Linked DNA regions of Homo sapiens: all the other regions are linked to region 2. The links are contacts of gene promoters, found by promoter capture Hi-C in blood cells and fetal thymus (Javierre and others, 2016). All regions are on one chromosome and are shown on one strand. The core of a region is centred on a gene start or on the middle of the fragment in contact, and the rest is flanking DNA. Distances in the headings are between cores, read along the strand shown.

Region 1 (3,508 bases), core at 942-3,441, 400 kb after region 2:
TCGCCCACAATGGACCGACGCTTTCGCAGCCCAGCCCGGGTCCTCCCAGGGGCCCGGCCAGCGATGCATCTGAGGTGACAGGTGGGGGACCCTGCACCTCTCTCTGAAAACTGAACCCCAGCCCAGGCATCGCTCCGAGCTCTCAACCCAGGCATCCGAGTGGAAAGTGGCAAGCCCGGGTCCCCCAGCCTTGGTGCTGCCTCCCCTGCGCGCGGGACAGGGGAGAGAGGAAGGAGGGATGCTGGCCTGGAGAGAGGCAGGAGGGACACTGACCTGGAGAGAGGCGGGAGGGACACTGACCTGGAGAGAGGCGGGAGGGACACTGGCGTGGAGAGAGGCGCGCGGGACAGGGGAGAGAGGCGGGAGGGACACTGGCCTGGAGAGAGGCGGGAGGGACGCTGGCCTGGAGAGAGGCGGGAGGGACACTGGCGTGGAGAGAGGCGGGAGGGACACTGGCGTGGAGAGAGGCGGGAGGGACGCTGGCGTGGAGAGAGGCGGGAGGGACGCTGGCGTGGAGAGAGGCGGGAGGGACGCTGGCCTGGAGAGAGGCGGGAGGGACGCTGACCTGGAGAGAGGCGGGAGGGACGCTGGCCTGGAGAGAGGCGGGAGGGACACTGGCGTGGAGAGAGGCGGGAGGGACACTGGCATGGAGAGAGGCGCGCGGGACAGGGGAGAGAGGCGGGAGGGACACTGGCCTGGAGAGAGGCGGGAGGGACACTGGCGTGGAGAGAGGCGGGAGGGACACTGGCCTGGAGAGAGGCGGGAGGGACACTGGCCTGGAGAGAGGCGGGAGGGACACTGGCGTGGAGAGAGGCGGGAGGGACACTGACCTGGAGAGAGGCGGGAGGGACACTGGCGTGGAGAGAGGCGGGAGGGACGCTGGCCTGGAGAGAGGCGGGAGGGACGCTGACCTGGAGAGAGGCGGGAGGGACGCTGGCCTGGAGAGAGGCGGGAGGGACACTAGCCTGGAGAGAGGCGGGAGGGACACTGGCGTGGAGAGAGGCGGGAGGGACGCTGGCCTGGAGAGAGGCGGGAGGGACGCTGACCTGGAGAGAGGCGGGAGGGACGCTGGCCTGGAGAGAGGCGGGAGGGACACTAGCCTGGAGAGAGGCGGGAGGGACACTGACCTGGAGAGAGGCGTGAGGGACACTGGCCTGGAGAGAGGCGGGAGGGACACTGGCCTGGAGAGAGGCGGGAGGGACACTGACCTGGAGAGAGGCGGGAGGGACACTGGCGTGGAGAGAGGCGGGAGGGACGCTGGCCTGGAGAGAGGCGGGAGGGACGCTGACCTGGAGAGAGGCGGGAGGGACGCTGGCCTGGAGAGAGGCGGGAGGGACACTGACCTGGAGAGAGGCGTGAAGGACACTGGCCTGGAGAGAGGCGGGAGGGACACTGGCCTGGAGAGAGGCGGGAGGGACACTGGCGTGGAGAGAGGCGGGAGGGACACTGGCTGGCCTGGAGAGAGGCGGGAGGGACACTGGCCTGGAGAGAGGCGGGAGGGACGCTGACCTGGAGAGAGGCGGGAGGGACGCTGGCCTGGAGAGAGGCGGGAGGGACGCTGACCTGGAGAGAGGCGGGAGGGACGCTGGCCTGGAGAGAGGCGGGAGGGACGCTGGCCTGGAGAGAGGCGGGAGGGACACTGGCGTGGAGAGAGGCGCGCGGGACAGGGGACAGAGGCGGGAGGGACACTGACCTGGAGAGAGGCGGGAGGGACAGGGGAGAGAGGCGGGAGGGACAGGGGAGAGAGGCGGGAGGGACGCTGGCCTGGAGAGAGGCGGGAGGGACACTGGCCTGGAGAGAGGCGGGAGGGACACTGGCCTGGAGAGAGGCGGGAGGGACACTGACCTGGGAAGCCCGCGGCTCGGGGCAGGCGAGGATCAGGAGCAGAAGGAAGAGCGCGCGCGGAGAGCTGGGCACCATCTTGCCAGTCGGAATCCCGCTGCCTGGGAGGGGAAATAACTTTGCCTCCGCTGCCGAGTTTGTCCCAGCGATGCGGCAGCCGTCCCTGCAGGGTGCGGGGCGCCGCGCGGCCGGGGGGCGGCTGGGGCAGGGGGGGAGGCGGGAGGCCCCGAGCGCAGCGCGTCCCGCGGGGATCGGCGCCGCCCGGGCCTTGCGAGGGTCCAGGTGCGCCCGCAGCTGCCCGCACGAGACAGTCCGCGCGAGGCGGGGAGGCGCCGGCCCCTGGGCTAAGGACGAGGGAGGAGGGGCTGCCCGGCCGGGAATGCGCCCGGGAGCGCGCCCAACCCGCGACGCCGAGGACGAGCGCGGGCATCCTCGGGGCCTGGCAGGGATGGGCGGCCAGTGCCCCGCATATGTGCGGGTGACTGGAAGCCCACCCTGGGCGGGTTCACTCCCGACCGTCCTATTTCCCAACCAAGTAGACTGAGGCTCAGTCACCAAGGACAAGTGGCAGAACAGAAACCCAAACCCAGGTCTGTCCTACTTCAAAGCCCACGCGACACCCTCCTCCCGACATTCCTAGAAGGGGGCCAGGAAATGGGCTTCATAAGCTTGACGTGGGGTGGACTGAGCTCTCCATCCGAATAAACTAGTGTCCCTTTAAATAATGCAATGGGGCCGTGAGAACACGCACGCACAGTGAGTAGATACACACACAGTGATACAGTGAGGGGATCTACGTCCTTCTGATTCACTGTCCTCCTTGCTCAAGGGAAGGAGAAACTCAGTTTAAATCGGAGGTCAGGTTCTAGAACATTGCCTGCCTTGCTGAAGTCGAATCAGGAAGTGCCAGGCCGGCATGAGCAGTCTGAAGTCCCCTGCCATCAGGGCTGTGGTACAACCAGATGCCTCAGACCTGAGCTCCCGGAAGGCATGACTGACGTTCTTCCTGGAAGGTTTTCTGAAGGCAGTCACTGCAGATGTCCTGGGACACACAAGTCTGGTCAAGCCCCAGATCTCTTTTTCCTCTTCCACATTTCACTTTGTTGAGCCCACTCAGAGCTCAGGGAACGGGGAGCCCACAAGACTGTGACCACAGAGCAGGAGCTGTTTCCCAGCAGAGGCCAGAAAGGAAAGCTGGAGTCCTGGCTTAGTCCCTTCAAACTGCTATAGCAAAATACCATAAACTGAGTGGCTTATAAACAATAGAACGTGTTTCTCACAGTTCTGGAGACTGGGAGGTCCAAGATCAAGGTGTCAATAGATTAGGTGTTTGGCGAGGGCCAGAGTTCTGGTTCCCGTGTCCTCACAGGGGAAAGGCAGCTCTCTGGGGCCTCTTTTCTGAGGGCACTAATCCCAATTTTGAGGGCTCTGCACTCATGACCTAGTCACCTCCCAAAGGTCCCACCTCCTAATGCCATCATCTTGGGAATGAGGTTTCCAACATATAAATTTAGGGGAGACACCAACATTCAGAACCTAGCCAGTGCCCCAAAAAGCAGGGGACATGGTTTAGGCTGGCCTCCTGGGCATTGGTTGCCCAGGAAATCCTACAGTGCTGCTCCCCCAACCTTCCCATGCAAAGGAGGTGGAACGGGACCCATGTAAA
Region 2 (3,448 bases), core at 591-3,090:
ATGTGCCACCATGCCCGGCTAATTTTTGTATTTTTTAGTAGAGATGGGGTTTCACCAGGTTGGCCAGGCTGGTCTGGAACTCCTGACCTCAAGTGATCCACCCGCCTTGACCTCCCAAAGTGCAGGGATTACAGTCAAGAGCCACCACACCCAGCCGACTGGCTTATTTTTAAATTAGTGCTTTTCTAAAATTTCTCAATTGGATTTTTTTTTTTTAAAGACAGGTCTCACTCTGTTACCGAGGATGGAGTGCAGCGGCACAATCATAGCTCATTGCAGCCTCAAATTCCTGGGTTCAACTTATCCTCCCACCTCAGCCTCCCGAGTAGCTGGGACCAGCTACTTGGGTGCGCACCACCATGCCCCACTAATTTTTAAATTTTTGTGGAGATGGGGTTTCACTATGTTATCCAAGCTGGTCTTGAAATCCTGGGCTCAAGTCATCCTTCTGCCTTGGCCTCCCAAAGTCCTGGATTACAGGTGTGAGCCACTGCACCCAGCCCGATTAACTTTTAATTAGGAATTTTTTCTCACAGACATGATACTGTAACAATCCAGGCACAATACAAATAACCCCCACCCCTCTAGTCTTTCTAAACAATAAATCTTAATGGCTCCCATATTATTTGCCGAATAGAGTTCAAGAATCAGACTGGCAATCAAAGCTCTCCACATTATCTGTATCCCTATCTCCCACAACACAAATCTTACCCAACAAAACCACAGGTAGGGTCCCCGAAGCATGTGACTCTGCTCTACTCTTCCCCTGGACGAAATGCACGTTTCTCACTTCTTGAACTCATCTAATCCTGCCCTTTCTCAAACTCCTGGATTAGTTGCGCCGCCCATAGGCTCCCGCAGTAGCCCACACAATCCCTTGGCAGAGCAGTTCTCAAGAACATTGGCATGCACTGCTTTCATTATCTTCACCCCTTCAACCCCCAAACACGACAGGGAGCACTTAAATGCATGAACTGTCTCGTACACGGGACTGCCTCCTCCACATCCTCTGAGCCTAGTGCCTGGAGACACTGGGGATGCTTACTAAACGAAGCTTTCCCCCACCATACTCACTTGAATTCTGCTACCATTACTCTACGCTAATAATGCAATTACACTTTTCGATTCAATCTTGCTTTCATGACTCATTTATACCTTCCTCGGCACCTGCTTAATTCATAACAAATGACGAGTAGTTTCTCTCTTTAAAGCTCTAAGAGAAGGAAACTGAAGGATAACCTTGAACATTACACTGTACCTACAAATACGTTCGGGATCTTTCGAGGTACGTTTTGGAGAGGTAAGTCTTCAAGTGATATAAAGCCGTGTGCATTGTGAAGCACATCCCCAGATAAGCCACTTCCTCACTCTCACAGCACCCCGAAACTGTCCAAACTACGGTTCACAATCACTTTTCACTCCAGAATCACGAATACATCTCTTAAGACGCCTCGACTCCAAGTCTCACGAAGGCCAGTACCGCGTCCTGTTTAACATGTTGTGCTCTCCCGCTTACCCACCAAGCCTGTCAGGATCAAGGAGCACATGCATCTGGGGTCATACTGTGACCTCCCAGCCACCTCCCTGGGATTGGCCTCGCCGCGGCAAGGGCGCCGGCGGACGCCGCGCTCACCTGCACCGCGAGGCCGAGACCCTCGTGCACAGCGTAGTTGAAGGACTCCACGTGCGCCCGCGTCAGCTCCTGCAACGCTGCCTTTTGCTGTTCCCGCGGGATTCCATAAGAGGGGTCAGTCAAGTGCTTTAGGCTAGGCCCGCTGGGCAGGTTCCGCCACCGGCTGCCAGGATCCATGTGGCCACCTGCACACCGGACGCCAGTCTCTCGGTACACGCCGGACGCCAGTCTCTCGGTACACGCCGGAAGTAGTGGCCGCAGTCCCGTTTCCGCAGCCTGCTGGGAAATGTAGTTCCCTCTCGTTCCACCCGCCCTAGGCCCTGCGGTTTCGGTTTCTCGGGGTCAACGTAGAACCAAAAACGTCGAGTGAACGGGCCGATTAAGGCCGTGTCCAGCCAGAGCGTGGCGGGCCCTCCCTTTCTCCCATATTCCGCCCCACTCATCTCCCCGCTCGCGAAAGATGCCGCAGGTGGAAACCCGCTCCCCGCCCAGTTGAGCATGTGACCTCTTTGGCTCTCATTGGCTCAGTCAATTAGGATCGGAGGAGAGCGGTCTTCTCAGGCTCTCTTCTGTTTCCCTTCACCTGTTCCCAGTCCCACGCTGATGCCGACCCTGGGGAGTCATCCGGCCAAAGTCGTTGCTTCAACGAAAAAGCGGATGCCGGGCCCCGGGCTGACTCTCTACCCAACTCCTAACTCGCGAGGCTCACCCCTGGGAAGCCAAGGAGTGGTCGGGCCCCGCTAACCTCGTCGCATCTTCCGGACTGGAGGCCTGGGGGAGGCCTGGGGAAGGAGGTGGGAGAGGAGTCGGGCGGTCCCGGATGGAGGGGATGGGGCAGCGGGGCGTCCAACTGGATTTACAGCCTGAATTTCTTTTGCGTTCCTGTGAGCCCCTTACCTCCCCAGAATACTGATTAATCAGGGAATGCCTGCTGGTTTTTCAACTTTATTGTGTTTGTGTTTAACAGCTATATTGCGTTATAACTGGCATACAATAAACCACACATTTAAAGTGTACGCGTTAAGTTTTGACCTATGTATACAACCATGCAGCCATCACCACAATTAAAACAATGAATTAAACCACCACTACCCAGTATCCTCCTGCCCCTGATAGTCCCTCCTTACTGTCAACTTCCCCTTTCCTAGTTCAGCTGGTACTTTTCATTCCTATATCACTTTTTATAAAAAATTCGAGCCGGGAGTCTGTTGCACAGGCTGGTCTTGAACTTCCGGCCTCTAGTGATCCTCTCGCCTTGCCTCCCTAAATGCTGGGATTACAGGCATGAGCCACCGCGCGCGCCCGGCCAACTGAGTAGTTGTAGTTCTTTATATAGCCTATACTAGTCCTTGTCAGATCCATGATTTGCAAATATTTTTCTCCCATTCTGTGGGTTTTTACTTTCTTGCTGGTGTCCTTTGAAGCAAAACGTTTTAATTTTGAAGTGTAGTTTTTTTCTTTTGTTGCCTGTCTTTTTATATCATATCTAAGACATCATTGTGTAATCCAAGGTCATGAGGATTTAAAAAAAAATTTATGGGTACATAATTAGCATATTTATGAGGTATATGAGATGTTTTCATATAGGCATACGATGTAATCATCACAGGAGGGTAGATGGGGTTTCCATCACCTCAAGCATTCATCATTTCTGTCATGAACATTCCAATTGTACTTCCTCAGTTATTTTTGAAGGTACAACAAATTATTGCTGACTGCAGTCACCCTGTTGTGCTATCAAATACTAGATATTTTTCAATCATGGGGATTTTCACCTATATTTTCTACTAAGAGTTTTGTAGTTTCAACTCTTAC
Region 3 (3,251 bases), core at 518-3,017, 490 kb after region 2:
GCGCGAACTCGGCTCACTGCAAGCTCCGCTTTCCTGGTTCACGCCATTCTCCTGCCTCAGCCTCCTGAGTAGCTGGGATTACAGGCGCCAGCCACCACGCCAGGCTAATTTTTTTATATTTTTTAGTAGAGACTGGGTTTCACCGTGTTAGCCAGGATGGTCTCGATCTCTTGACCTCATGATCCGCCTGCCTCGGCCTCCCAAAGTGCTGGGATTACAGGCGTGAGCCACCGCGCCCGGCCCCAATGATGGTTTTTAAGTAAGGATGAGCTGATCAGAAAGATCGTGTTGGTTGTCAAATTGGGAAACAGGAGCATAGGAGAGCCAGGGTGACACCATTTTAAAAATAACTCCATCTTAAAACTAGCAAGGTACATTTCTTGCCAGTCACCACCCATGGTCGTAAGATGTTTACAGTGGCTGGGCACGCCTGTAATCCCAGCACTTTGGGAGGTCAAGGCGGGTGGATAGTTTGAGCTCAGGAGTTTGAGACCAGCCTGGACAACATGGCGAAATCCTGTCTCTACACGAAATACAAAAATTAGCCAGGTGTGGTGGCGTGCCTGTGGTTCTGGCTACTCAAAGAAGCTGAGGCGGGAGGATCACTTGGGCCTGGGAGGCGAAAGTTGCAGTGAGCCCTGCACTCCAGCCTGTGTGACAGAGTCAGAACCTGTCACAAACAAAAAAAAGAAAGAAAGAGAAAGAAAGCAAGAAAAGGAAAAAAAAAAAAGGAAAATGAGGAAGGTTAGAATGAACTATAATGCTGGCTTGCAACTGATGATATCAGTGTGAACTCATTTTTAAAATTTAGTTTTATAAATAGATGTAGATATGTGTGTGTGTGTGTGTGTTTATATTTTCTTGCACTGATTCCCAGGAGGACCTAGAAGCAGCGACACCCCAGTAGCAATAGGTACATCTAGCACCAGATCTTGCTTTATAAATATCATTCTCCACTAAAATAAACCAGGGATCCTTGGAGAAGTGGCTGAGCCCAGGAATGGAATAGAGAAATTCATGATGAACTTGAGAATCTTGTTTTGCCAGAAAGTAAGGAAGTGGGTAAAAAATTATGAGGACACGTCAAAAAGGCATAGGAGCCAGTTTGAAGGAGCTCCCTTCCACTTACCAGATCTGGGACAATTTGGTCACCAAAATGATAGTAGTGGATTGTAACTCATTGACTCAAATAGGAATCCATGAGTCTATACTAACATAAATAAATAAATGATTACATAAATAGGAAAGAAAATCACTTTCTTACAGTTGGAAAACTAATAAATGCAGAAGGAATAACAAATTTAAAATATCACCATTTGGCAACTATCACAATTAAAATTGATTCAGAAAGAATCATCAATTCTATTCTAAAGTTAGTTGGCAAAAGCTTCATGAGGAAATATCTTCCAAAAATTACTTATTAATTACAAAGAGAAAAACAGTAATTATACAGTGGAGATACCTGGCAGACACCAACTTAATGATCAAGGTTAATCCCACAAGGATTGGGACAAACAGACATGATATGTATCATGATTTGATTAACTGAAAAGAAACAGCATGACTTCTGTGATATTCCTGCCAAAAATGCATGCCCAAAATGCAAAAATGCATCTAATCAAGCTATTCAAGGAAATGAGGAAAAAATTCACATACTTAAATCTAATCACAAGGAAACATCAGACAACCCAAATTGAAAGACATTCTACAAAGTAACTAGCTGGTATAATTTACCAAAAAAAAAAAAAAAAAAAAAATATATATATATATATATATATATATATATATATATATATATATGCCAGGTTCTTGAAACAGCTGAGGAAGTTAGAGGTTAAAGGAGACCCAAGAGACATGATAACTAAATGTGACATATAGGCCTAGCAGTCTGGAGCCTACACCAGAAAAATTGTTTTTGCTATTAAAATTCTTTAGACAATTGGTGAAATTTGAACAAGGACTTTAAGAAAATGGTATTGTCAATGTGAATTTCCTGAATGTGAAAATGGCACCGTTATCACACTAAGAGAAGGTCCTCTTTCTAGAGAAAAGCACACTGAAGTATTTAAAGGTAAGCGGGCACCACATCTGAACTTATTCTTTGGTGGTTACAAAAAACTTTTTATATATTATATATATAAGCTTTATATATGTATAACATGTATACCATCTCTATCTATCTATCAAGATAATCTAATAAAACCAATTTGAATGAAGAGTATGCAGGAGTTCTTTGTATTCTTCTTGCAACTTTTCTTTGAGTCTGAAATCATTTCAAAAGAAAAATTTCCAAAACTAAGAAAGAAGGGGGTAATCACTCTGTGGTTCTCCCTGTATATATGTTAATAAAATTTATATGCCTTTCTAAGAAGGAGGAGGAGGAAGGAAGAAGGAAGGGAGTATCTCACACCTCTCACATCCCATATAGGGATCCAACTTGGTGTCCTCCACAGCAGATGGAAAATTTATGATTACTTGGTAAAAATAGATTGATAGTCAACTGATTGCCAGAGTGCTTTACTCATTCTCTTTTGAGTCTTATGGGATTTAGAAAAACAAACAAACAAACAAACAAAACAGCTACCATATAATTTTTAATTTGAAAAATTAAATCCTGGAGCAAACAAAAATTGTCCAAAGAACAAATAAGGAAAAATTTGGCAATAGTTGACTGTAAGCTAGAACTGAAAGGCCCCCATCAATAGACCAGTCCTTCCTCTAGTGGAGTTTATTGCAGCTGTTATAAAACTGAATCACAGTTCAGAGGTTGCTGTGCAGGGAAATGAAAAGGCATTTGAGAACACGAAGTATCATGAGATCCTGAATTCAGTGCTATTAATGAGAGACTTTGGGGTATGGCTAACACCAAAAATGAATAGATGCTATTTTTGCATAAAAAGCTGTACATTTGATTCATTGCTTTTAATTAAAATATTGGATTGTATGAGAAATTTTGAGAGTATCATATAAAGCACCTTTTCCACATACTTCCATTTGCCTTCATTTAACTTTTTCTTCCCTAAATCAAAACTGATTTTAGTTTTGAGTTGAGGCTTATGGATATGTAAACATAAAGGTTGTTTTTCTGATATTTCCTCTTCATGTGCAACTTATATATCACATAAATTGTAGGGACCAGCCCCACAGGGTCAGTGGGTCTCTCCCCGTGTGTGGAGATGAGAGAGTGTAGAAATAAAGACACAAGACAAAGAGATAAAAGAAAAGGCAGCTGGGCCCAGGGGACCACTACC
Region 4 (3,489 bases), core at 390-2,889, 300 kb after region 2:
GTGCACCACCACGCCCAGCTAATTTTTGTGTTTTTTGTAGAGAAAAAATATACATGGGGTTTCGCCATGTTGCCCAGGCTGGTCTCGAACTCCTGGGGTCAAGCGATCTGACCGCCTCGGCCTCCCAAAGTGCTGGGATTACAGGCCTGAGCGACTGTGCCCGGCTGAATTTTCCTTTTTTATAAGGAAATCAGTCACTGGACTAGGGCCCACCCTAATGACCTAATCTTAATTAATTACACTTGCAATGACCCTATTTCCAAAAAAGGTCACATTCTGAGGTATTAGGGGTTAGTAGTTCATTATAAGAATTTTGGGAGGGTGCAGTTCAACCCATAACAAAGGTAATGTATATTCCTATCTTGCCCTTCTTTTCTGTTTTTGAACATGGAGAAACGCCATCTCTACTAAAAATACAAAATTAGCCAAGCATGGTGGCAGGCACCTGTAATCCCAGCTACTCAGGGAGCTGAGGCAGGAGAATCGCTTAAACCCGGGAGGCAGAGGTTGCGGTGAGCCGATATCATGCCATTGCACTCCAGCCTGGGCAACAAGAGCAAAATTCCATCTCAAAAAAAAAATGAGTTTTAACACACTATAGAAGAATGGGTTAAATTGTCACTGAGACTTATAAGACAGAAATAGACTTTAATAGTGTATCTTTTACTTAGCTTTCTTGCTTGCTTGCTTTTTCTTTTTCTTTCTTTCTTTTTTTCCTTTTCTTTTTCTTTTTCTTTCTTTTCTTTCTTTCTTTCTTTTCTTTCTGTCTCTGTTGCCCAGGCTGGAGTGTGGTAGCATGATCTTGGCTCACTGCAACCTCCTTCTCCTGGGTTCGAGCAGTTTTCCCACCTCAGCCTCCCGAGTAGCTGGGACTACAGGCACACGCCACCACACCTGGCTAATTGTTGTATTTTTAGCAGAGACAGGGTTTCATCATGTTGCCCAGGCTGGTCTCAAACTCCAGAGCTCAAGTGATCTGCCAGCCTCGGCCTCCCGAAGTGCTAGGATTATAGGTGTGAGCCACCATGCCCAGCCTCCTTAGTTTTATAAAAGAATACAGGACAGATGATAAAGCAGGTACAGTATCTTCATCTTCTTGGAAGCCTCTCAGCTACCCAAGTAAGCAACTTCTTTTCCCCTTTGGGGCCTATGTGGCTTCCAAAGATGAGAGCCAAGGTTGACGACAAGAAATTGCAACTTCAACTTCCCACAAGTTTTTTATACTGCTTGAGTCACATAGGCCTCAGTCTTTTATGCCCACTTTTAGCTCCTCCAGACTTCGTATTATATATTATAACCTTCCACAGCAGACAGGCAGAAACAACATTCTACAACTGTCTTACATAGTTTCTGCAAAACAGTACTGTGAGAAGATGGACTCCTAGGTTATTCTCAACCAGGCTTGCTTCAGTGCAGCCTCTTCACTCACAAGTATGTAAAAGGTGAATACATTATCAAATAAATATCACAGCTAATTAATTAATTAACTTATTTATTTTTGAGACAGAGTCTCACTCTGTTGCACAGGCTGCAGTAAAGTGGCAAAATCTTGGCTCACTGCAACCTCCACCTCCCAGGTTCAAGCAATTCTCCTGCCTCAGCCTCCCGAGTAGTTGGGAATACAGGTGCCTGTCACCCACCTTGCCTGGCTAATTTTTGTATTTTTAGTAGAGATGGGTTTTTGCCATGTTGGCCAGGCTGGTCTCGAACTCCTGAGCTCAAGTGATTGGCCCGCCTCAGCCTCCCAAACTGCTGGGATTACAGGTGTGAGCCACCATGGCTGGCTATAGCTTATTTAAAAGAGAATACCCAGGTAAACACTTTGCAAGTTAAGAAAGAGCATTACCTCAGATTTTGAGGGTTTGATTTCATACCACCACAATAAAACAAATATTGCAGTAAAGCTAGGCACAAGAATGTTTTGGTTTCCCAGTGCATATAAAAGTTACATTTATACTATACAGTACTCTGTTAGGTGTCCAATACCATTATATTTTAGAAAACAGTATATATCTTAATTAAAAATTCTTTGTTGCTAAAAAATGTTAACAGTCAGCGAGTCATCTTTTTGATGGCAGAGGGTCTTGCCTCAGTGTTGATAGCTGCTGAGGGTGGTGACTGCTAAACACTGAGGTGGCTCTGGCAATTTCTTAAAATAGGACAGCAGTAAAGTTTGTCACCTCAATTGACTTCTCCTTTTACAAAATATTTCTCTGTAGTATGTGATGCTGTTTGATAGCATTTTACCCACAGTAAAAATTTCAAAATTGGAGTCAATCCTCTCAACCCCTGCCACTGCTTTATCAACTAGGTTTATATAATATTCTAAATCTGTTGTCATTTCAACAATGTTCATAGCATCTTCACCAGAAATAGATTGCATCTCAAGAAACCACATTGTTCACTTGTAAGAAGCAGCTCCTCATCTGTTCAAGTTTGATCATGAAGTTGCAGCAATTCAGTCACGTCTTCATTCTCCACTTCTAATTCTAGTTCTCTTGCTTTTCCACCACACCTGCAATTACTTCGTCTACTGAAGTCTTGAACTCCTCAAAGTCATCCCTGAGGGTTGCAATCACCTTCTTTCAAACTCCTGTTATTGTTGATATTTGACCTTCTGCCATGAATCACGAATGTTCTTAATGTCAGCTAAAATGGTGAATCCTTTCTAGGTTTTCAATTTACTCTGCCCAGATCCATCAGAGAAATCACTTTCTATGGCTACTATAACCTTAAAAAGTGTATTTTGTATTTATTTCTTAAATAAGACTTGAAAGTCAATTATTCCGTGATCCATAAGCTGCAGAATGGTTGTTGTGTTTGTGGACATGAAAACATTCATCTCCATCAGAGCTCTTGGGTGACTGGGTGCATTGTCAATGAGCAGTAGTATTTTGAAAAGGATATTTTTTCTGAGCAGTAGGTCTCAACAGTGGGCTTAAAATAGTCAGTAAACCATGCTGTAAACAGATATACTGCCATCTGGGCTCTGTTGCTCCATATATAGAGCACAGGCAGAGTATATTTAGCATAATTCTTAAGGGCCCTAGAATTTTCAGACTGGTAAATGAGCATTGGTTTCAACTTAAAGTCACCAGCTGCATTAGCTCCTAACAAGAGTTAGCCTATCTTTTTGAAGCCTTTTAAAGTATTTTATTTGTATAAATTTACGGGGTGCAAGTGCAATTTTGTTACATGCATAGATTGTAGTGGTGAAGTCAGGGTATTCTTTGAAGTGAGGTATTGACTTCTCTCTAGTTATGAAAGTCCCAAGTGGCATCTTTTTCCAACATAAGGCTGTTTCATTTACATTGAAAATCTGTTGTTTAGTGTGGCCACCTTCATCAATGATCTTAGCTAGATCTTCTGGATAATTTGCAGCTTTTACATCAGCACTTGTTGCTTCATCATGCACATTGCTTTTTGAGATGGAGTCTTGCTCTGTCACCCAGGCTGGAGTGCATTGGCATTACCTTGGCTCACTGCATC
Region 5 (3,671 bases), core at 657-3,156, 460 kb after region 2:
AGATCATACTATATTTACAGAGACAGTCAAAACTTACTTGACAGTCCAGTGTTGCTGATGTTTTGGTATTCACTATAAAAAACTGCTTTTTCAAGCATTCCCAAAAAAATAACAGCTGCAATCCAGAACTGGATTCTTAATATATCTTTCCAATAACAGGCAGACCACGTCAGCCAGAGTATGCCATATAATATATAAACAATACACATCACCATGTAAAACTGTAGGAAGAGAAGCAATTTTAGTCAGTTAAGCCTTTTGGTCATTTGAAAGTTGGCACTTCTACATTCAAGTATCCAACCCTTCATTTTCCAGTCACTCTGGAACCAGAAATACAGGATATGTCAAAGCATTAACTACTGAGGAATTACTACCACAAAGCTCTTAGGGTATAAAATTCATTTTTTAAAAAGGAAAAAATGATGAGAAATACTCACAATCATTAGGGGCCAATCTGATGCAGAGATATATCCATGAGGCCCAATCATAGAAAGAGAAACTAGGATAGAGAAGAAGAGAGAGTTAATTAACAGTCAGTCTTAAATCTTTAAATGTAAGTTCATTTCCCAGAAGGCTCCAAGAATACAAACCACACTAACAAATGCTGAATTTGTATGTAGCACATACATGGTATTGGACAATTAGTATTTGTTTGATTATGTAACCTTACCAAGATACCTTTACTGTAAGACCAGAAACTGTAAAACTGCTAGAAGAAAACATAGGGAGAACACTACATAACACTGGTCTGAGCAATGATTTTTTGGATTTGATCCCAAAAGCACGGGCAACAAAAGCAAAAATAGACAAATGGGATTACATCAATATAAAAAGCTTCTTTGCACAAAGGAAACAATTAACAGTAGACATAGACAACTTAGGTACTGGGAGATAAAATTAGCAAGCCATATATCCAAGAAGGAGTTAATATCCAAAATACATAAGCTCAAACAACTCAATAGCAAGAAAACAAAAAACCCAATTAAAAGAATGGGCAGGCCGGGCGTGGTGGCTCACCCCTGTAATCCCAGCACTTTGGGAGGCCAAGGCGGGCGGATTACGAGGTCAGGAGATCGAGACCATCCTGGCTAACACGGTGAAACACCGTCTCTACTAAAAATACAAAAAATTAGCCGGGCGTGGTGGCGAGCACCTGTAGTCCCAGCTACTCGGGAGGCCGAGGCAGGAGAATGGCGTGAACCCAGGAGGTGGAGCTTGCAGTGAGCCGAGATCACGCCACTGCACTCCAGCCTGGGCGACAGAGCAAGACTCCGTCTCAAAAAATAAAAAAAGATAAAAAAAATTAAAAAAAAAAGAATGGGCAAGGGGCTGGGCGTTACAGCTCACACCTGTAATCCCAGCACTTTGGGAGGCCAAGGTGGGCAGATCACTTAAGGTCAGGGGATCGAGACCAGCCTGACCAACATGGTGAAACCCGTCTCTAATAAAAACAGAAAAATTAGCCAGGTGGGGTGGCGTGCACCTATAATCCCAGCTACTTGGGAAGCAGAGGCAGGAGAATCACTTGAACCCAGGAGGTGGAGGTTGCAGTGAGCCGAGATCGTGCCACCGCACTCCAGCCTGGGTGACAGAGCGAACTCCTGTCTCAAAAAAAAAAAAAAAAAAAAAGGCAAGGGACCTAGATGTTTCTCAAAAGAAAACATATAAATGAGCAAAAGATATTAATACATGAAAAATGCTCAACATCACTAGTCATTAGAGAAATGCAAATTAAAACCCCAATATCATTTCACACCTGTCAGAATGGCTTTTATCAAAAAGATGAAAGAGAGTAAGTGCTGATGAAGATGTGGAGAAAAGGGATGCTTTGTGAAAATGTCAATTAGTACAGCCATTATAAAAAACAGTATGGAAGGTCCTCAAAAAACTAAAAACAGAATTACCATATAATCCAGTAATCCCACTTTACTATTTACCCAAAAGATCTAAAATCAGTTTGTCAAAGAGCTGTCTGCACCCCCATGTTCACTGCAGCAGTATGAACAATAGCTAAGTTATGGAATCAAGGTAAGTGTCCATCAACAGATGAATGGATGAAGAAAATGTGTATATATACACAATGAAATACTATTCAGCCTTTAAAAAGAAGAAAATTCTGTCATTTGCAACAACATGGATGGAACTGGAAAACACTGTGCTGAGTGAAATGAGTCAAGCACAGAAAGACAAATACTGCACATTTTCACTTATATGTGGAATCTAAAACAATTGAACTCCTAATACGAGAGCAGAATGGTGGGTACAGAGGCTGGGAGGTAGGAGGCATGGGCAGATGATGGTCCAAGGGTAAAAAAAAATCTCACACAGGAGGAGTAAGTTTTTTCTTTTTTTGAGTTCTATTGCACAGCATGGTGAATAGTTAACAGAGTACTGTATGTTTCAAAATTGCTGAGAGAGTACATTTCAAATGTTCTCACCACAAAAAATGTTAAGCATTTGGGGTGATGAGTATGTTAACTAGTTTGACTTAATTATTCCACACTGTATTTATAGATTATAACATTACTTTGTACCCCATACATTTATGTCATATGTAATTGTCAATTTACAATAAAAAGAAAAAAAGAGATCCCTCTACTTGTATACACGCTATTCTAAAAACCTGTGCCAAATCTGATCATATACAAGAGCACAGTAGTCCCAGCTACCAAACAAGACCTCAGACTGGCCCCCTTGCTAATTTACTCATCTCACCGGGACCTTATCTTCCTTGACGTAACTTGGAATAAATTACCAAACTCACACATCTAGGTTGGGTTTTGTCTGAGATAGCAATAATAAACCATGTGCCGAGTACAGTGCAAAACATGCAGGGCTCAGTGACAGCTCCAGCTACTAATTAGCAGGGGCTCAAAACTGCCCGCTGGTGTCAGGGGAAAAGACACAATGCCTGGGAAAGAAGTGGGCACAAGCCTAGTTCTATGGTCTGAATGTCCTCAAAAATTCATTAAAGCTTCATACCCACTGTGGTGGTATTAAGAGGTGAGGCCTTTTGGGAAGTGATTAAGTCATGAGGGCTCTGTCCTCATGAATAGATTAATGCCTTACAAAAGGCCTGGAGGGAACTAGCTTAGGCCCTTCTTTGCTCTTCTGCCTCCACCCCGTGAGAGCAGAGTGGTTGTCCCCTTTTGTGCTTCCTGCCCTTCTATCCTTTCTGCCATGTGAGAACACATCGTTTAAGGTGCCATCTTGGAAGCAGACACCAGGGACCTAACCAGACACCAAACTTGGTGGCACCTTGATCTTAGACATCGCAGCCTCAAGAACTGTGGGGAAATAAATTTCTGTTCTTTATAAATTACCCAGTGTCAAGTATTCTATTATAGCAGCACAAACAGACTAAGATAGGTGACAGAATGGCATCAGGGTCCCTGCTCCCTCTACTTGGCACAGTCTGGCTCATGATGCCATCTCCAGAAGGAAGCCTTACCTCACACTCTTCCAGAGCAGCCACCTTGCCAGCTTCCCTCCAAGGGCCATGCAGTACAACAGACCGAGCCTCCTCTGCAGCAATGCCTACCTCACCTCATTGGTTTCTGCCAGCTGACTGGCTGAATCAGAGCAGTATCAAATCCCCAGGGCCCTCACATGCTGATTGGCTACTGCTGGCCCCAGCAGACACACCCACTATGGAAAACATCAGCCAAAGT
Region 6 (3,643 bases), core at 836-3,335, 440 kb after region 2:
AGAAGTTACCATGAATTCCTCAATTTCATCATCAGAATCATCTATTAAGGGCATGAAGGCATATCTATAGCAAAAACAAGGAGTAGTTTTACTAGTATGTTTAAACTTGTTCAATTTTCAGTTTATATCTAAAAGCCATTGTATAAAAAATCTACATTTAAAAAATTTCTTATACTTTAAAATAATGAAAACGTAATTATTTTACTTTCAAATTAGCTAAAATTATCATTAAGAAATTGTGAAACTGGAGCTCTCAAACCCTGTTTGTAAAAGCATAAGTGGGTAAAATCTTTCTGCAAAGCAATTTTGCAATATTTAATGTTGAGGGAAGGGAACTTTCTGCTGTTTCTTTCTCCATGTCAGGTTTACCTCTCTGCCCACCACTTGTCAGTTTATTTCCTAAAAAAAGAAAAGTTGCTAATCTGATTGGTGAAAATAAAGCCCACTGAATGGGCCACATTTCCTAGGGTGATAAGCTCAAAATACTGCTGATGGAGTGTGAATCAAGACAACCTTTCTGGAGGGTCATTTGGCAATAGCCATTAAAGTAAAAATTCATTTACCTTACATTACACTAACAAAAGTTTGCCAAGATGATGTCCAACAGCATTCTGAAAACATTATTGATAATAGCAAAAATCTATTTTTTAAACAAAATGTCTAATAACCAGGGACTGCTTATATAAATTATATTACATTCATGTTATAAAATGCCATAAAACCATTAAAAGTAATGTGGTAGATCTATACATGCTGATATGGAAAGATAGTTGTTTTTTTTGTGGTTTTTTTTTTTTTTTTTTGAGACAGGGTCTGGCTCTGTTGCCCAAGCTGGAGTGCAGTAGCAGCGGCATGATCTCAGTTCACTGCAACCTCCACCTCCTGGGCTCAGGCCATCCTCCCACCTCAGCCTCCCAAGTAGCTGGGAGTACAGGCACATACCACCGCACCTGGCTAATTTTTGTATTTTTTTGTAGAAAGAGGGTTTTGCCTTGTTGCCCAGGCTGGTCTCGAATTCCTGGGCTCAAGTCATACACCCACCTTGGCCTCCCAAAGTGCTAGGATTATAGGCGTGACCTTAAACAGGAAGGTACAGAACAGTATGTGTATGTATATGCGTGTGTGTGTGTATATATATATATATATATATATATATATATGTATTATTGTATAATTTTAAAAAGGACAGGAGAAACACACTGATACAGGTTGAGTAGCCTTTATGCAAAATGCCTGAGACCAGAAGTGTTTTGAGTTTTGGATGTTTTCAGATTTTGGAACATTTGCATTATCCCTACCAGTTGAGCATCCCAAATCTGAAAATCTGAAATTCAAAATGTTCCAATGAGCACTTCCTTTGAGTATCCTGTCCGTGCTCAAAAAGTTTTGGATTTTGTAGCATTCTGGATTGGGATTTGGGATGTTGAATCTGTACATACTTTTTCATTTTTTCCTAAAGGATGGACAAGAACTTAAGTTCTCTCCTTGGGGCAAAGGGATAAAGCAAGGAAGCTGAGGCTTCCTATCACATGCAGTCTCAAGTACAACTTTCTGAACTTGACACTCAAGTCTTTTGTCATTTTGGCCGTACTTCTCCCTTCCAGCTTGATCTCCCTCCAATATGAGTATGTGGTATTAACCAAACTGCATGTCTCACTGGCCTCCAAAGTATCTCATGCCTTTCCCACCACCCCAGAAAATGGACACTCTTTCCCAGTTCAGTCATTCGCTATCCTATTCCTTTCCTCAAGGTGTAATGTAAGCGCTGTCGCTTCAAGAAGTCTTCCTCAACCCTCTTCCATCTTCCCCTGGACTAGTCTATACATCTCTTTTTTCACTGTCTTGCATTTGTTTTGCTTATCTCCCTACTTGACTGTATACTCCTTAAAAGCAACGACTATTCTCCTGGTTTCTATAAACGTGTTCTTGACACTATAGAAGGTGATCAACAAATCCTTGACGACTTGAAATTTCCTATGTTAGGTACCTCTGATTGTTTGCTGATGGTCTCCACAAAAACATGATTACAATAAGGATAAGCGAAAAAAGGAAGCTCCAAAATGCATCGTCAACCCAGCGTTCCATCCAATCCTAAAAGAAGGACAATTCAAGCATGAAACGTTAATTTTCTGATAAGCATATAGGTTTCCCATTCAAATAATGTACAATGACAAGTACTAATGAAATCTTTCCAACCAGTAAGTCTTCCAAATAAACAAGCACATATTTTTTCAAGAAACCTATATTGTTCAAAATGTTTCTAAAGGGTTGTTTAATGTTACAAATATTCCCTGCCATAAAATTTTTGGGTTAACAGAAAGATTTCAAAATCAAAAGATGCAAAACATATACTTAGGATTTCAAATGGCAAATACTAAGGTCAGAAGGCCCAGCCTCTTCTTTTATTAAATTGTCTCTAAGGCAGCAAAAGCTCTGGATTTTCAGAGGGCTTTTTGTGATTATTTATATGGCACTAGAGACTAGCTCCAAATCTCAACAAATCCCCAAAAGAGGACCTTTCATATTCTAAGTCTAAGAATATATCTTCTTCCAACATGAGAACCCATAGAAAACATCACTCGACTCGGGAGGCTGAGGCAGATAATTGCTTCAACCCGGGAGGCGGAGGTTGCAGTGAGCTGAGATCGCACCACTGCGCTCCAGACTGGCTGACGGAGTGAGACTCATCTCAAAAAAAAAAAAGAAAACATCGCTCGAATGCCCATACTGAACACACGATCCTAGAAACATGCCAGTCTTAAGATTTCTAGTCCATCTAGATACAAACCACTCAATTTCATGGTGTGCAGGAAGAAAAGGATTTCCTGTTAGGGTATACAGGAAGAGAATTTATTTTCAAAATATATAAAAAAAACTTGACAAAAGGGCATAATAGGAAAAGGAGATTTCGGAGGAACTTTTTCAGACTCACTTGGAGGAGTTAAAAGTTTTTTTTTTTTTTTTTTTTTTTTTGAGATGGAGTCTCGCTGTGTTGCCCAGGCTGGGGTGCAGTGGTGCAATCTCAGCTCACTGCAAGCTCCACCTCCTGGGTTCACACCAGTCTCCTGCCTCAGCCTCCCCAGTAGCTGGGACTACAGGCACCCGCTAATTTTTTGTATTTTTAGTAGAGACGGGGTTTCACTGTGTTAGCCAGGATGGTCTCGATCTCCTGACCTCGTGATCCGCCTGCCTCGGCCTCCCAGAGTGCTGAGATTACAGGCGTGAGCCACCGCGCCCAGCCAAAAGTTTTTATAACTCTGTAAAAAATAGTTCAAAGTAAAAACATAAATCTCCATTAAAATCACCTCTATTTGCAAGCATAAACTAAATTGTTCAAAATTCTACAAAATAGTATAAATAAAAATAACTGTTTAAATAGGAAGGTTATACTTACTGATTGGCATTTTGCAATTCTAAATGTCTTAGTTGTCCACCCCATAAACACTATAGAAGCTGAAACACACAAAAAGTCACCTTTGAAGGAATATAACAATACTAAGATAATTTACTGTAAGAAAAATTAAATAGCTTACCCAGCACAGCAAAGATCAGAGTATTTTTAAAATGTCTATATAATGAAAATTTCACAGTGTTCTTTCTTAGCCTTAGGGTCTTCATAGTTTGTGCCAAACTAATAAAAATG
Region 7 (3,725 bases), core at 232-2,731, 420 kb after region 2:
AGTTTTTGTCTAGTAAGTCAAACATCTGGTCTTTCTCAGGAACATTTTGTTTTGATGCTCTTTTTTTTCTTGTGAGAGATACACTGTCATTTCTTTGCTTATGTCATAATTTTTTGGTAAATACTAGACATTTTAAATAATATAATGTGGTAACTCTGAAAACCAGTTCCTTCCCCTTCAATGGTTTGCTGTTGTTACTACTTGTTGTAGTAGTTGTTTAGTGAGTTCTCTAAACTAATTCCGTAAAGTCTGTATATTTTGTGATATGTGGTCACTGAAGTCTCTACTCAGTTATGTAATGGTTAGACAATTATTGGACAGAGACTTTCTTAACCTCTCGGAACCAGTAAATCTCCCAGTCTTTGCCGAGGTGCTTGTGTGTATGGTGGGGCACACCTTCAGCACTCATTCAGGCAGTTTACAACTAACTCTGCCTTAGCCTTCACTTCTTGTTTGTGGTCTTTGCTGAGCATGCAGAGCCCTATGCATGCATGTGACCTTTTAGATTCCTGTAAGTATGTTGAAGGTTTTTCAAAGGCCTTATGGTCATCTCATTCTTTAGACTTTCCTTTTAAGGTTTTTGGTCAGTCTGTTGTTTGCTTTGAATGTTATTTTTTGCTTTAGGCAGCTGTGACATTAAAAAACATGCCTGTGAATATTTTTAATAAGTATCCCCTGGAAAGAGGCATTTAGCACTGGGAAAGCTGTGACTCAGGTCAAATAAAGACAAGCCTTTCCAGCAGACTCCACTGAACCCCAAGAAAATCTCCACTTATCAAATGAAGAAACAGAGAACTGGAATTATGACCATGTAGAAACAAGAATTTGGAAGCTGAAAAGACAATGAAGTCATATGAAATGACGTAGCAAGTGGTCACCAAAGTATATAAAATGTATTTCAAGTTTTGATGCCCAGTCCAACCCTTCTGTGGCATCTCTTTCCCCCTGACAATAAGGACCAGAGGTGAGAAAAACAAACTAGGAGGCAGTCTTCAACCCTGGTCTGAGGGAACTGTAGCCAGTGACACTTTCCTGGTCCTCCATTTCCTCATTTGTAAGATGATCTTAGAGGCTCTTTCCAGCTTTAAAGTTTTAAAATATACCAAAATAACTGTTTTTCCAGGGCAGTGCTGTGTGAATTATTTTTAAGTTTTTTTCTTCATCCCCAAATTTGTTTAGTGGCATTTGGTAAGTAAATTTATAAAATCTGTAAAGGGAAGAATTAGAGAAAAGAAAAAAAGATTAGAACTCTTCAAGAGACATTACTTTGGCACCACCTGCTGGATAGCTTTCACATTTTTTCCTGTGCATAAACTTCCATTGCAGCTTCTTGTTTTTTCAAAATGATTTTAAGGAAATACTGTCAAAATTATTTACATCTGAAATCAGATATAAATCAGGTCAGCCTCTGACCAGATGTAAATATCAGGTCACCTCTGTTAATGTAGCTGTACATTCCCTATCACTTAAGGGGCATAAAACTTGCTCTGGGTAACTTCATCTTAATACAAGTGAATCAATCCTGGAATGTGTTTGAATTTCATATGCCATTTGTTTCAATTGAGTCTCAGTCACCCCTCAATCATTGCTGTACCTTTCACATTAACCTTAGCTGCCTCCTGAAGGCTATGCACCAGGCACTTTAGATACATTGTCTTACTTAACCTTCTCTAACAAGCAAACAGCACTTTGTTAACCGAAACTCCTCTCTCCTCAGGACTTCGAGGACAACCCTTCTAGGATGATTCCCACCAGTATTATACCAGCCTTGCCACCTGCCAGGATGGTAAACTATCAAATTATTTAACCTCTCTCTCAGTTTTCTAATCTATGAACCAAGGGAACTAATACTTCATTGGCTACTGTGAGAATACAGTGGTTACCAAAGCCTGGCACTCTGCAAGTGCTCCCAAGTCTGCCAAAATGGTCATCAGTCTTATGACAACAGCCCTTCCTTTCCCTCTGGGACTATCCATCTTGTCCCTCTCACTCCTCACATGTCAAAGGTGGGAGAATGTCCATGAAGAAAATTCTCCATGTCCCATCTACTTACAGCAAGATGGATTTTTTAAATTAATTAAGATTAAGCTGTGAACCAAGACACACTTTTCTAGATTTTCTGATACATAGTCTAAGGCACTATTATTATTATTATTATTATTATTATTATTATTATTATTGAGAGTCTCGCTCTGTCGCCCAGGCTGGAGTGCAGTGGCACAATCTCGGCTCACTGCAAGCTCCGCCTCCCAGATTCACGCCATTCTCCTGCCTTAGCCTCCCGAGTAGCTGGGACTACAGGTGCCTGCCACCATGCCCAGCTAATTTTTTTCTATCTTTAGTAGAGATGCGGTTTCACTGTGTTAGCCAGAATGGTATCGATCTCCTGACCTCGTGACCCACCCATCTCGGCCTCCCAAAGTGCTGGGATTACAGGTGTGAGCCACTGCGCCTGGCCAAGGCACTATTATTTTTACATATTTATGTTGAATATGTTTCTTAGAAAATTAGGGGTAAAAATTAGGCCCTAGGGTATGGTGGGTCCGCAAGATGGAAATAAACCCCGGGTGTCTGAGGGACATGTGGAGGAGGGTGGCCCTTCCCACCTCTATACCTACTGAAGAATTGTCACATGAGCAAGAAATAAACTTTTTGTCTTAAGTTTCTGAAAGGCTAAAATCAAGTTGTGACCACAGCCTGGCTGAGCCTCAACACTAACCATGTATGCCACCCCAGTGCTTTTCCACTCAATCCTTTCTCTACTTTTTTTTTTTTTTTTTTTTTGAGACGGAGTCTCGCTCTGTCGCCCAGGCTGGAGTGCAGTGGCCCAATCTCAGCTCACTGCAAGCTCTGCCTCCCGGGTTCACGCCATTCTCCTGCCTCAGCCTCCCGAGTAGCTGGGACTACAGGCGCCCGCCACCACGCCCGGCTAATTTTTTGTATTTTTTTTTTAGTAGAGACAGGGTTTCACCATGTTGGCCAGGATGGTCTCGATCTCCTGACCTTGTGATCCACCCACCTTGGCCTCCCAAAGTGCTGGGATTACAGGCGTGAGCCACTACGCCCGGCCTTTTTTTTTTTAAATTATCTTTATTTCAAAATAATAATTAATTATGTAATTATTTATGTAATTAAGAATTATGTAATTACTTAATTCTGTAACTTTACAGAAAAGTTGGAAGATAGAATGCATTTTTTCTGAACCATGAGAGTAAGTTGCTCTACCTTATTTTTACATAGATAAGCATTCACATATGTGCCACTGCATCACAGTTCTTATAAGTATTTTTATTATAAATTCTTCATAATTTAATGGCTATACAATATCTCATAAAGTAGCTGGTTAAACCATAATTCACTTAACTATGATATTGTTTGTCTCTAATTTTATTTCTACTTTAATATTATAATAAACACTTTTGTGGAGAAACTTTATTCTGTATTTTGAATCATTTTTTAAAATATCACCAGAATTGACATTATTCAAAGGTTATAAACACATTGTTGAACTTTTCACAAAAAAGGAAATCAACTATATTACCATCATTAATAAGTGTGCTCATTTCATCAGACTTTGAAAGCAAAAGGATTTTACAAATATACCATAGTACAAACTTATGTTAATTTGATTTTTTAAACTATCCCCTATCTTTTGTTTTGCATTTCTTTACTACTACTGAGGTTGAGCACTTTTCCATGTTTGATTAGCTGTGCCTCCTGTTTTA

Evidence for each region. Contacts are between HindIII fragments. The CHiCAGO score rates a contact against its expected background, and 5 or more counts as called.
Region 1: the fragment with the promoter of FBLN7 here is called in contact with the fragment with the promoter of POLR1B in region 2 in 2 of 17 cell types (non-activated CD4 T cells and fetal thymus); the score reaches 5.8 in non-activated CD4 T cells.
Region 3: a contact is called between a fragment that was not itself captured here and the fragment with the promoter of POLR1B in region 2, in 9 of 17 cell types (fetal thymus, total B cells, activated CD4 T cells and 6 more). The highest score is 10.8, in fetal thymus.
Region 4: a contact is called between a fragment that was not itself captured here and the fragment with the promoter of POLR1B in region 2, in 2 of 17 cell types (fetal thymus and total B cells). The highest score is 5.4, in fetal thymus.
Region 5: a fragment that was not itself captured here is called in contact with the fragment with the promoter of POLR1B in region 2 in 3 of 17 cell types (M2 macrophages, megakaryocytes and naive CD8 T cells); the score reaches 5.4 in M2 macrophages.
Region 6: a contact is called between a fragment that was not itself captured here and the fragment with the promoter of POLR1B in region 2, in 1 of 17 cell types (naive CD4 T cells). The highest score is 5.2, in naive CD4 T cells.
Region 7: a fragment that was not itself captured here is called in contact with the fragment with the promoter of POLR1B in region 2 in 6 of 17 cell types (fetal thymus, total CD4 T cells, erythroblasts and 3 more); the score reaches 6.7 in fetal thymus.

The regions. Positions count from the first base shown.
Region 1 is chr2:112,137,068-112,140,575 of GRCh38, reverse strand. It overlaps FBLN7 (fibulin 7), which reads right to left and starts at 2,191. Exons shown (of 8, transcript NM_153214.3): 1 at 1,846-2,191. The coding sequence starts at 1,920. RefSeq lists an enhancer at 1-374. The HindIII fragment of the contact is 8,502 bases long and covers 1-2,512 here.
Region 2 is chr2:112,540,857-112,544,304 of GRCh38, reverse strand. POLR1B (RNA polymerase I subunit B) reads right to left here and starts at 1,840. Exons shown (of 15, transcript NM_019014.6): 1 at 1,634-1,840. The coding sequence starts at 1,810. TTL (tubulin tyrosine ligase) reads right to left here. Exons shown (of 7, transcript NM_153712.5): 7 at 2,566-3,448. It overlaps LOC105373562 (a long non-coding RNA gene), which reads left to right and starts at 2,093. Exons shown (of 2, transcript NR_136321.1): 1 at 2,093-2,102; 2 at 2,227-2,649. RefSeq lists an enhancer at 1,808-1,957. The HindIII fragment of the contact is 8,470 bases long and covers 1,057-3,448 here.
Region 3 is chr2:112,050,015-112,053,265 of GRCh38, reverse strand. No RefSeq gene overlaps it. Among named protein-coding and RNA genes, the nearest start is that of TMEM87B, 3.6 kb to the left of the region's middle. The HindIII fragment of the contact is 755 bases long and covers 1,390-2,144 here.
Region 4 is chr2:112,245,590-112,249,078 of GRCh38, reverse strand. All of the region lies in intron 2 of ZC3H8 (zinc finger CCCH-type containing 8), which reads left to right. Among named protein-coding and RNA genes, the nearest start is that of ZC3H8, 7.7 kb to the left of the region's middle. The HindIII fragment of the contact is 4,896 bases long and covers 1-3,489 here.
Region 5 is chr2:112,077,885-112,081,555 of GRCh38, reverse strand. It overlaps TMEM87B (transmembrane protein 87B), which reads right to left. Exons shown (of 19, transcript NM_032824.3): 7 at 438-499; 8 at 38-221. Among named protein-coding and RNA genes, the nearest start is that of TMEM87B, 24 kb to the right of the region's middle. The HindIII fragment of the contact is 2,140 bases long and covers 837-2,976 here.
Region 6 is chr2:112,097,043-112,100,685 of GRCh38, reverse strand. TMEM87B (transmembrane protein 87B) reads right to left here. Exons shown (of 19, transcript NM_032824.3): 12 at 3,534-3,642; 13 at 3,395-3,453; 14 at 1,988-2,091; 15 at 1-64. Among named protein-coding and RNA genes, the nearest start is that of FBLN7, 40 kb to the left of the region's middle. The HindIII fragment of the contact is 5,541 bases long and covers 1-3,643 here.
Region 7 is chr2:112,119,414-112,123,138 of GRCh38, reverse strand. No RefSeq gene overlaps it. Among named protein-coding and RNA genes, the nearest start is that of FBLN7, 17 kb to the left of the region's middle. The HindIII fragment of the contact is 9,145 bases long and covers 1-3,725 here.